Regions from separate parts of the Homo sapiens genome. Here regions 1 and 2 are each linked to region 3. Evidence: promoter capture Hi-C in human tissues and cell types (Jung and others, 2019). All regions are on one chromosome and are shown on one strand. The core of a region is centred on a gene start or on the middle of the fragment in contact, and the rest is flanking DNA. Distances in the headings are between cores, read along the strand shown.

What was found. Contacts are between HindIII fragments. The study calls those that stand out against the background at their distance.
Region 1: a contact is called between a fragment that was not itself captured here and the fragment with the promoter of LRRC9 in region 3, in 1 of the 25 tissues and cell types used here (aorta).
Region 2: a contact is called between a fragment that was not itself captured here and the fragment with the promoter of LRRC9 in region 3, in 1 of the 25 tissues and cell types used here (hippocampus).

Annotation. Positions count from the first base shown.
Region 1 is chr14:59,612,799-59,617,063 of GRCh38, reverse strand. All of the region lies in intron 3 of RTN1 (reticulon 1), which reads left to right. Among named protein-coding and RNA genes, the nearest start is that of MIR5586, 32 kb to the left of the region's middle. The HindIII fragment of the contact is 5,580 bases long and covers 1-4,218 here.
Region 2 is chr14:60,197,732-60,201,859 of GRCh38, reverse strand. No RefSeq gene overlaps it. Among named protein-coding and RNA genes, the nearest start is that of DHRS7, 34 kb to the right of the region's middle. The HindIII fragment of the contact is 7,748 bases long and covers 1-4,128 here.
Region 3 is chr14:59,918,562-59,922,315 of GRCh38, reverse strand. It overlaps LRRC9 (leucine rich repeat containing 9), which reads right to left and starts at 2,172. Exons shown (of 33, transcript NM_001395648.1): 1 at 2,043-2,172. RefSeq lists an enhancer at 1,813-3,012. The HindIII fragment of the contact is 18,773 bases long and covers 1-3,754 here.

The DNA.
Region 1 (4,265 bases), core at 179-2,678, 300 kb after region 3:
TTACACTTATGCAATTAACTATACTTCCATAAATTGAGAATATTAACAAATAGTTTTCAAATTCTGGAGAAATTAGGTAGAGAGGAACAAATGTGCTCCAAATTTTGTTTATAGGAGTATATTTTACTCACTTGTTAGAAGTTGCAAATAGCTCTAAAGAAATAAGTCCTCCTGACTCTGAAAGAAAAGGTTTAGCAATGTTTAACACATTAGCTTTCCATGAGAGCCCTAAAAGTTTGTTCTTTTCCTCTCTTTCAATAGCACAATTTTTAAAGTTATTTGAGACCTGCACTTAAGAGTCGTATATCTGATTATAAACTGCCTTTTGAAAAGGACCAAAGCAAGACAAAATGTCTGTGGATGACAAAAGGCTATAGCCACTATTAAAGCTACAATTATGTAGCAGTTTTGTTTACTTTTGTGGCATACAACAATTTTACATAACAATTATAATTATTAATAATGTACACTAAATTGTATCAACATTATAGAAGTTTCCCATAATTTTGGAACACATACTAATAACATTTATATAAATAAAGTCCAAAGTAAACCAAATGCCACTTAGTCTTCTATTTGAAACATTTTCCTCTATTTTAATGTCACAATTTTCAGCATTATTAATTAGAATCCTGCATTTAAGAGCACCTGTTAAATTTGATAGCTGAGTATGAAACAATTTTCACCAAAATGAGACAATTGTCTGTGGATGATAAAAATATTTTAAGGCAGCCACAGTTAAAGACACAATTGACAAGAAAATTTGTTACCTCTGTGGCACACAGTCTGTTAACATAATAATTATGATGATTACTGATAACATATACTAAGTTATATTAGAATAACAGGAGTTTTGCATAATTTCAGAGCATATACCAATAACGCATTTACACAAATATAGACCAAAGAAAGCCAAACACCATTTCATATTTGACAATGCTTTCTGTATGATTTTTGTACCAAATAAGCCAAATGTTATTTTTGGACTTTAGAGGACCTAATATCTAAAATATTAGGTAAAAAAGAGACATAATTTATAATTTGATGTTGGAAAGTTTGTTAAATATCAAAGGTTTAAAATACTGGTTATCACAAAATAGAATCCTAGGTTACCATACGTAATTCATTTGGCCAAAATGATAACTCCAAAAAAAATTTTAAAAAAGAAAAACCTTTACTCTAATAGAGGAGACTTAGCTTTCCAAACAAGATGCAATGAAGATAGCATGAGGCCAAATAAATCTATCTCTTTTCTTTCTTTCCTCCTTTTTTTCCCTGCCATTTACCCAAAGAAGAAAATAAGACCTTTTTATTATCTTTTAACATTACATAAAAATCATCTTTAAAAGAGAAAAACATATTTCATGTTTGCATTCGTGCATTGTTAATGTTAAAGCTAGTGTTTTTAAATAAAATTTTGTATCTTTATTCAGTTTTAATTAGTTTGACCATAGGGTAAGATTTTCACAAACCCTTTAGAACCCTTTACAATTTTCCATTAAACAGCAGATCAATTTTCTAAGAAAGCCCTGTTATTCAGACACATGGGCCCAGATTCAGGCCCCACATCAGTATGATTTTGATGTTTGTTGTTGTTGTTGTTTTGTTTTTTTTTAGATGGAGTTTCACTCTTGTTGTCCAGGCTGGAGTGCAATGGCATGATCTCTGTTCATCGCAACCTCCACCTCCCAGGTTCAAGTGATTCTCCTGCGTCAGCCTCCCGAGTAGCTGGGATTACAGGCATGCGCTACCATACCCAGCTAATTTTGCATTTTTAGTAGAGACAGGGTTTCTCCACGTTGGTCAGGCTGGTCTCGAACTCCTGACCTCAGGTGATCCACCACCCTCAGCCTCCCAAAGTGCTGGGATTACAGGCATGAGCCGCCATGCCCAGCCGCTTTTAATGTTTTAACCTAAGGAAAAAAGCTAAATAATTTCTTTTAAATATTAGCCAACTGGTTTATACCCACAGAATTTTTACAAGATTAACCCTTTCACTTTGCTTAAGCCTTCAGTTTTGTTCTGTTACTCTTTTAGGTTAAGACAATTTTTAAAACCCTCAGAACTAGCCAAAATTACATTCCCTTTAACAAAAGCTATATTCCCATGCCTTCTTATAATCTTTTACCAAAAACACATTCCCTACATACCTTGTATGTAAAACTGCTTCTTCAGTGGTCTCAACTACATATTACAATGTTAACTGTTAGAAACTTTTATTTTTAGTGAAAAACCTGATAAGTAAGAGATTTTAATTATCTACTAAGGGTGGAGCCTAGGACATCGGACAGAAATGAAGATCTGACTCATTTTAGCATAGCTAGTGGACTTGGCTTTCCGTATGTCCCCAGGCCTTATCTATAATCTGCTCCAAAGTAGGTAAATCGAACAATTTTCAAAAGTCAAAGAAACAGCTTGACCTTAAAGCATTTAGCAAATTTGATATTTGACCTTAATTTAGACCAAATGTCTACATTTTCAAGACATTTTATTTTACCAATAATCTTTAAAACTGTCTTTATTTCCCAAAGATTCCTAAAGTCACGTGAACAAAACGGCATTAAAGTTTCTATTTTTCTGACAAAATATTTGATTTAAGCACTTATGTTTCTAAGCCAATTAGAGTTTTTTTATATGTAAACATACAACACATATAAATACACAGACAGGAGATTTAGCACTTGTGAAATTTTTCATTTGCCAGTTTCTTAATTGGATGACTGGCTTCAGGGTGGAGCCCTTGGAGGAGCAGGGCCAGGAAAACATGAATTTCTAGGGCCAAATAAGCAGCTGAAGGCAAAGACAGATCCCCAAAATTAAGGGTACCATTTTATACCGGATCCCGGATCCCCAAAAGGAGGAAAATACTCAGGAGAAGATAGTGCAATGCTTCTACCCTGCATTTTATTGCAAGGTAACCCAAAGCCAATCAGCCCATTTTGTAATCAGCCCATCTCTCCTGGGAGTCTCATCTCCCAGTGGGGGTAGTGGGGGCGTTTTCTTGTCTTCCAAGTAGCCAAGAGCATGCTTCTCCTATCCAAGTGTGCAAAGAATTAAGTATCCCTCCATAACTACTATTAGCCATCCCTTATATTTCCTACCTAATTATCATAATACGAAGTAATTTCTGATACCCCCAAAACTCAAAACCATCAGATAACAGTATGCAAAACAGAACAGATCCTTTAATTTTGAGAGGGATTTATCTGCTTTTAAATTCCTGGGGTTTTATAAGGAAATCAGAGGGTTTTTTTTTTCCAAAACAGGGTATGTGGTGCCTCCTCTGTTTTTCCCAATGAATCTCAGGCTACCAGAAGTTATCTTAGGGCCTCTCATGAGTGCTTTAAGAAGGACAAGGCAAAAAAATGGAGAAAAATAATACAGTCGACTGAGAAGAAAAATCCTTTTTCCAGAAAAACAAGTTCCAAGAAGAGAAAAACATAAAGGCCTTTTAAATATATCTATAGGCCGGGCGCGGTGGCTCACACCTATAATCCCAGCACTTTGGGAGGCCGAGGCAGGTGGATCACAGGATCAGGAGTTCAAGATCAGTCTGGCCAACATGGTGAAAACCCATCTCTACTACAAATACAAAAAATTATGCAGGCGTGTTTGCGCGCACCTATAGTCCTAGCTACTTGGGAGGCTGAGGCAAGAGAATCACTTGAACCCAGGGGACAGAGGTTGCAATGAGCTGAGATCACGCCACTGCACTCCAGACTGGGCGACAGAGTGAGACACCATGTCAAAAAATAATAAATAAATAAATCTATAGCTTGTTTATCCACTTTTAATTAAACTGACTTTTAACCATAGTGCTCTTTAAAGAAGAAATCCTTTCATATTTCTTATTACCTGATGTTAGCCATGCCAAGTGGCCAATATTTTTACTTTCTGAACTTTACCAAAGGTAACCTCCTAGGTGCTTCAAAGGCATGGTAAACAGTTTCTTTTTTTATAAGATTTAGAATTTCCGCAAGGTAGTTCAAAGAAAGGAAAATTCAAGAGAGGAAATTAGAAGCTAAGTATGGGGGGAAGAAACCTCAATAAATGGCAAAATTACACAAATAAACCAGAAAGGAATTATTCCAGAAGCCAACAATTGAACCCCGGCCACCACTGTCAAAAGATAAAGCCGTAGCTACTGAGCTATACAGCATTAAGCAGTTTCTATTGCTTTTCCCAGAAGGGGCCTAGAGAAGCAAATTTCAAGCTTGGAAAGCTTTTAACTGCCCAAGAAAAATTTTTAGGACTAATTATGACAT
Region 2 (4,128 bases), core at 1,363-3,862, 280 kb before region 3:
AAATTATTGTTGACTGTAATCACTCTGTTGTGTTATCAAATAGTAGCTCTTATTCATTCCATCTAACTATATTTTTATACTCATTAACCATCCTGACTTTCCCCACCGCCCACAATCGTTCCCAGCCTCTAGTAACCATCATTCTACTCTCTATCTCCATGGGTTCAGGTGTTTTAATTTTTAACTCCTACAAATGAGAGATAACATGTGAAGTTTGTCTTTCTGCGCCTGGCTTATTTCACTTAACATAATTACCTCCAGTTCCATCCATGTTGTTGCAAATGACAGGATCTCATTATTTTTTATGGCTGAATAGTACTCCATTGTGTATATGTACCATATTTTCTTTATCTGTACGCCTGTTATTGAACACTTAGATTGCTTCCAAATCTTGGCTATTGTGAATAGTGCTGCAATAGACATGGAAGTTTATTTCTTCAGACGTTTCTTCAATATACTGATTTCCTTTCTTGTGGATGTATACCTAGCAGTGGGATTGCTGAATCACATGGTAGTTCTGTGAGTTATTGAGGAAACACCGTACTGTTCTCCATAGTGGTTATACTAATTTACATTGCCACCAACAGTGTATGAGGGTTCCTTTTTCCCCACATCCTCCCCAGCATTCATTATTGCCTGTATTTTGGATAAAAGCCACCTTTTAACTGGGGCGAGATGATACCTCATTGTAGTTTTGATTTACATTTCTCTGATGATCAATAATGTTGAGCATTTTTCATATACCTGTTTGCCATTTGTATGCCTTCTTTTGAGAAATGTCTTTTCGAGCTTTTGCGTATTTTTATCACTTTTAGATTATTACAACATTTTTTCCTATTGAGGTGTTTGAACTCCTTACATAATCTGGGTATTAATCCTTTGCGAAATGAAGGGATAAATATTTGTTTGCAGATATTTCATCCCATTCTGTGGGTTGTCTCTTTGTTGATTGTTTTCTTTGCTATGCAAAAGCTTTTTAACTTGATGTGATCCCATTTGTCCATTTTTGCTTTGGTTGCCTGGGCTGGTGGGATATTACTCAAGAAATCTTTGCCAAGACCAATGTCCTGGAGAGTTTCCCTGAAATTCTCTTTTAGTAGTTTCATAGCTTGAGGTTTTAGATTTGTCTTTAATCCATTTTGATTTGATTTTTGTATATGACAAGAGACAGGAGTCTATTTTCCTTCTTCTGCATAAGGATATCCAGTTTCCCAGCACCATTTATTTATTTTTAGTAGAGGCAGGGTTTCACCATGTTGGCCAGGCTGGTCACAAACTCCTGACCTCAGGTGATCCTCCCGCCTTGGCCTCCCAAAGTGCTGGGATTACAGGCGTAAGCCACCATGCCCAGCCTAGATGATTTCTTACTGCTCATTAACATCCTCTTCTTTCAGATTGAAGAACTGTTAGCATTTCTTATAGGATAGGTCTAGTGTTCATGAAATCCCTCAGCTTTTGTTTGTCTCAGAAAGTCTTTATTTCTCCTTCATGTTCAAAGAATACTTTTACTGGATATACTATTCTAAAATAAAATATTTTTCCCTTGAGAACTTTAAATTTGTCATGCCATGCCATTCTCTCCTGGCCTGTAGGGTTCCCACTGAGAAGTCTGCTGTCACACATATTGGAGCTCCTTTGTATGTTATTGTTTCTTTTCTCTTGCTGTTTTTGGGATTCTTTCTTTATTGTTGGCTTTTGGGAGTTTGATTATTAAATGTCTTGAGGTAGTCTTATTTGGGTCAAATCTTCTTGGTGTTCTATAACATTATTGTACTTGAATATTGATATATTTCCCTAGGTTTGGAAAGTTCTCTGTTACTATCCTTTTGTATGGACTTTCTACCCCTTTCTCTCTCTCTACCTCCCCTTTCAAGCCAATAACTCTTAGATTTGCCCTTTTGAGGCTATTTTCTAGATCTCGTAAGCACGCTTCATTCTCTGTTATTCCTTTTTCTTTTGTCTCCTCTGACTGTGTATTTTGTTTCTTTTTTTTTTCCTTTAAACTTATTTTTGAGATGAGATCTTGCTCTGCCACCTAGGATAGAGAGCAATGGTACAATCATAGCTCACTGTAACCTCAAACTCCTAGACCCAAATGATCCTCCCACTTCAGCCTCCCAAGTAGCTAGAACTATGAGCATGTGTTGCAATACTCAGATAATTTTTAAATGTTTTTGTAAAGGTGGGGCCTCACTATGCTGCCCAGGCTGATCTCAAACTTCTGGCCTCAAGCAATACTCTTGCCTTGGCCTCCCAAAGAATTGGGATTACAGGCATGAGCCACTGTGCCTGGCCTGACTGTGTATTTTCAAGTACCCCATCTTCCAGTTCACCAATTATTTCTTCAGTTTGATCAATTCTGTTGAGAGACTCTGATGTATTCTTCAATATGTCAATTGCATTTTTTAGCTCCAGAATTTCTGCCTGACCTTTAAATTTCATTTCAATGTCTTTGTTAAATGTATGTGATAGGATTCTGAATTCCTTCTCTGTGTTATTTTGAATTTTTTGAGCTCCCTCAAAACAGCTATTTTGAATTCTCTATCTGAAAGATCACATATCTCTGTCACTCTAGGATTGGTCATTGGTGCCTTATTTAGTTCATCTGGTGAGGTCATGTCTTCCTGGATGGTCTTTATGCTTCTTGATGTTTGTCAATGTTTGGGCATTGAGAAGTTAGGCATTTATTATAGTCTTCACAGTCTGGGCTTGATCGTACCTGTTCTTGGAAAGGCTCTCCAAGTATTCAAAGGGAATTGACTACTGTGATGTAAGTCTTTGGTCACTGCAACTGTATCTGCATTAGGGGCCCCCACCAAGCCCAGTAAAGTTGTGACTCTTGCAGTGTTATAGAGGTACTGCCTTGGTGGTCTTGGGTTAGAGCTGAGAGAATTCCCCAGATTACTAGGCAGAGACTCTTGCTCTTTTCCCTTACTTTCCCCCAAACAAATGGAGTCTCTCTCTGTGTCTGTGCTGAGCTTCCTGGAGCTAGGAGAGGGGTGACACAAGCCCCCTGTGACCACTGCCACTGGGACCATATTGGGTCAGATCTGAAGCCAGCATAGCACTAGGTCTTACCCAACACCTGCAGCATCCACTGCCTGGCTGCTGCCGATGTTCACTCAGGGCTTACGAGCTCTTCAATCAGCAGGTGGTGAGTCCAGCCAGGTATGTGTCCTTGCTTTCAGGTCAGTGAGCACCCACCCTCTAGCCTAGGGTGGGCCCAGACATGCCATTTAGGAGCCACGGCATGGAGCCAGGAACCTTGGAATTTACTTGGTGCTTTATCCTATCGCAGCCAAACTGGCATCTAAGCCATAAGACAAAGTCTTTCACATGCCTTCCTCTCCTTTCTTCAACCAGAAGGTGCCTCTGATGAGTACTGCCTGGCTACCATCAATATTCACTCAAGGCCCAAGGGCTCTTTGGTCAGCTTGTGATGAATGCTGCCAGCCGGGGTCTCTTACTTCAGGGCATTGGGCCACCCTCTGGCCCAAGGCAGGTGCGGAAATGCCGTCCAGGAGCCAAGGCCTAGAATCTGGGACCCCAGGAGCCTGCCTGGTGCTCTAGTCCAGTGTGGTCAAGCTGGTACCCAAGCTGCTAGACAAAGTGCCCTTTGTTATTTCCTCTCCTTTTCTCAGGCAGAATGGGTCTGTCCCTGTGACCACCACACATGGGAATGTGATGGGTCACACTCGAAGCCAGCACAGCTCTGAGTCCCACCCAAGGCCTATGGTGAGAACTGCCTGGGTGCCACTGCTTATTATTCAGGGCCCAAGGGCTGTTTAGTTAGCAGGTGACTCATCCTGCCAGAACTGGGTCCTTCCCTTCAAAATAGCAGGTTCCCTTTTGGCCCAGAATGTGTCTAGAATTGTCATCCAAGAGCTAGAGCCTACAGTGGAGGCATCAGGACTCTTTCTGGTGCCCTATTCTTCTGTGGCTGAGCTGGTATCCAAGTTGCAAGACAAAGTCCTCTTTACTCCTTCTTCTCCTCACACAGAAGGAAGTAGTCCTTCCTGGATTTGCAAGCTGCAGTGCCTGGGGTTGGGGGAAGGGTGGTGTGAGCACTCCCTTGGCCACCCTGGCTGCTGTCTCACTAGGTTATATGCACCCCCAGACCACTGACTT
Region 3 (3,754 bases), core at 923-3,422:
CAAGCCACTACAAGGTCAAAAATAACCTTCTAATGGCCAAAGACAGCGGACATGTTTTGATTCTCAACTTGACCTTGACATGGCATTTGACAATGCTGACGACTCTCTTCTTCACGTTTTCTTCTTTGGTTCAACTTTTCTCCTTGGCTTCTCTCTACTTGTTATTTCAAACTTACTTTGTGCTTTTCTTCTTTTCTTTTTTCTTTCTTATTTATTTATTTATTTTTTTTTTGAGACAGAATCTCACTTTGCTGCCCAGGCTTGACTGCAGTGGCACAATCTGGGCTCACTCCAACCTCTGCCTCCCAGGTTCAAGTAATTCTTCTGCCTCAGCCTCCCAAGTAGCTGGCACTACAGGCGCGTGCCATCACACCCGGCTAATTTTTGTATTTTTAGTAGAGACAGGGTTTCACCATATTGGCCAGGCTAATCTCGAACTCCTGACCTTGTGATCCACCCGCCTCGGCTTCCCAAAGTGCTGGGATTACAGGCATGAGCCACCGTGCCTGGCCTACTTTGTGCTTTTCAAACCAATTGTTTTCTTCATGGTGAAAAATCCTTATCTTCTTTTCTGTGCAAAAAAAAAAAAAAAAAAAAATCCAACTGCCCACATGAAAAAGCTCCATCTGAATGTGCCACAGGCATCTCAAATTCAGTGTGTTCAAAATTGAACTCATTATATTTTCCAACCAGCCTCCTTCTCCTAATGTATGCCTTCTCTTGAAAAGTAACACCACCATTCTTCTATTGGTTGAGCTATTATCCTCAACCAATCTTTGACTCTATCCCCCTATTTTCATTCACTCATTAAATCCTTCTGCATATACCTCTTAAAGGTCTTACCACATTTTTTTTCCTCCTCCTCATTCCAATTGCCTCTGCCTTGGTTCAGGCCCTCATCACCTCCCCTTAACTTGATGTCCTCCCTGTAGTCTGTCTTCCCTCAAGTTCATCCTCTACACTACTGTGACAGCCTCCTGAAAGGTAAATCTGCTCATGCTTTACCCCTTTGGAAGGTATTAATGGTTTCCATGCTCTGACTCCTGCCTACCTCACATGCTCATCAGCCACAACCTCCACAGAGGACCCTAGGTTCAGGCCACAACTATAGTTCTCTGGAACTGAATGGATGTTTCTGTACTTTGGCATGGGCTGTTTCCTCTCCCTAAAATGTCCTTTTCCCTTGGCTGTATGGCATACTCCATACTTCCCTAAAGATTTAAATCAAAGATCTTCTCTTTGAAGACTTTCATTCTCTCTGGTAGTATTATAAGCATTCTCTTTCTTGTGATTCTGGTTAGGGCTTGCACATACTCTTTGTATAGCACTTGTCACACTGTAAAACAATGTTTACGGGCCTTTCTTCCCTACTAGGTTACATGTTCATTGAAGGCAGAAACTGTGAACCTATCACAGGTTCACTGTCTGGCACATGCTAGTTGTTAAAAAAATTGTTTAATGGGTTAATTGTCATGCCACAGGCATATGGTATAATTTAAAGACATAATCGTTCTCCATGACCAGAGTATAATGATAGAGTAAAAAGGACCATGGTTTCTGTCTGCCGTGAGAGTTGGTTAGGATGTCATTCTGAGAAAACTTTTTTTTTCTCTGCCCAGTAGAAGTCCTGTATGGGTCAAATTATTTCCTCCTTTGGGTATAAAAGGATCAGAATCCATCAGTTACCACTGATGGTCCAAATAAACCCCCTACACTCTCTAGATGAGCAGTGTCAGGTTTGGTTAGGGAGCACTTGGTTTTTCCAGCCCAGAATCTTAATTGGTGCAGTAAAATCTGCATAGTTGGCTGTAGGCCACCCTCCCTTTCCTTCTCTTGAACTTTGTTCTGGTACCCTGACTGCCTCAGTAAAGCCACCTCACTGTCTTTCATCATTATCATCACCATTGCACCATTACGGAGTTCCCTTGACCTCAACTTTGCTTCACTGGCGTCTTCCCCTTGGTATGGCTTGGAAGGAAAAAGAGGGGATCAAAGACTCCCGGTGATGTACGCCCGAAGGCCACCAGGTGACGGATTCTGACCTTATCACAGAGAGAGGGTGGATTCCGGGGCAATCCGATTCAAGTCCGAGTCCACTCCGATTTCCCAATCCCTGTCTTGCAGCAGAAGGTAGGAAACCCTCTCCCGCCCCAGGCCTGGTGTGTACAGACTGCCTGTGGCGGTTGCCTAGGTAACCTGATCTCCGCCTCCGGCGACCTCCGGGTGGGGAGGAGGAGAAAAGGGGCGGGGAGGGGGATAAAAGGGTGGGGGGGAAGCGGAGGCCGACCCGGGTTTGCATCACGTGGTGGCGACCTCCAACCAATCAGCGGAAGCAGGGGTCCAACCGGAAGACCCCACCTGGGGCTCCTGGGAAACGGCGGGAGCTTCTCGCTGGCAGGTTTTTCTGTACCTGCGCTTATCTTTTCACTTACCTTCGCCAGTTCGCGGAACGTGACTGAAAGCAACGCGTTATGGGCAAGGTGGTGGGGACTTATTCGTTACCTCCTCCAGTCTCGCTCTCTCCCATTCATTATCTTTAGCTCTCGGGTCCTGGAAGCGCGGAGCCTCTCTGGCCTTGAGCCCCGAGGGCATGGCCCTGTGATGTCACAAGGTGGCGTGACAGCCGGGACGAACCCCGACCCCCAGCGCGGCATCCTTCCCGCGGCCAGCGACCACCGCCTCCCGGGAAGGTGGCTGACCACAGCCGCAAGCCGCTGCGCGCCCGGCAAGCCGAATGGAAGGACGGCGCGGGCAAACGAACGCCCAGTGAGGTCCAGAGAAGAGAGGGACCTTCCGAGGGTCTTCTAGTCGATCTCGGACAGGCTTTTGAGTGCCTTTTAAGCATTCCAAAATTTTCAGGAGACAACAGTAATTTACAAAATAGAGTAGAATTAAAAGGGGGGAAAGGGGAGACTTTTCAGAGTGGGCAGAGAGGCTGAGAAATGAACTTAGTAAAAGGCAAACCAAAGCAACCGCAGGTCTCGTGTCGTTCTCTGGATCTGCGCAGTCCAGCAGGGTGAGCCGCTACCCACAGACTCGCAGGGCCCATGATCGCTTGAAATGTGGCTTGTCCAAATTGACATGTGCTGTAAGGTACGCATTGTATTTTGAAGGCTTAGTATGAAAAAAATAAACTCTTTCGTTATTAATCTTCATATTGATTAAATGTTGAAATAATATTTTTGATACATTGGGTTAAATAAAAAATATTGTTAAAATTATTGTTTCTATTTTGAAAATGCGGCTGTTAGATAAATTTTAAATTGCATGTATGACTTGAATTATGTTTCTTTTGGACTGTGCTCTCTTTTATGTGGTTCAGTCGGTTTGTGTAGAATAGTTGTGATGTTAATGCAAAATATTGTCTGTAGTGCTTCTTTCTGTCACCAGATGGCCACCTCATTAAATAGACTATAGTTTTGAACTGCTTTCCCAAGAAAAAGTTCAGATTTTAGGAATATTCTCATTTAACAATTGTCAACAATTTCAGCATATTTGCCTTTATTCAATTAACTTTATCTGTAATATAGACCGTTTGTAAAGATACATAAACAAAAATTAACTGGTTTTCCCTCTACATTCTTATTTCACAGAAAATTGTTTCTATCTGTCATTAATAGATAATTCGAAATAAGCTAATTAAAGTTATTTGTGGCTTAGGGGTTTCAAACTAATGCCAGAAAAGTCAGATTCATAGTTTTTACTTTTACTATTATCTTCTCTGAAATGTAGTTGAACAAGGTGACCTGTCTTT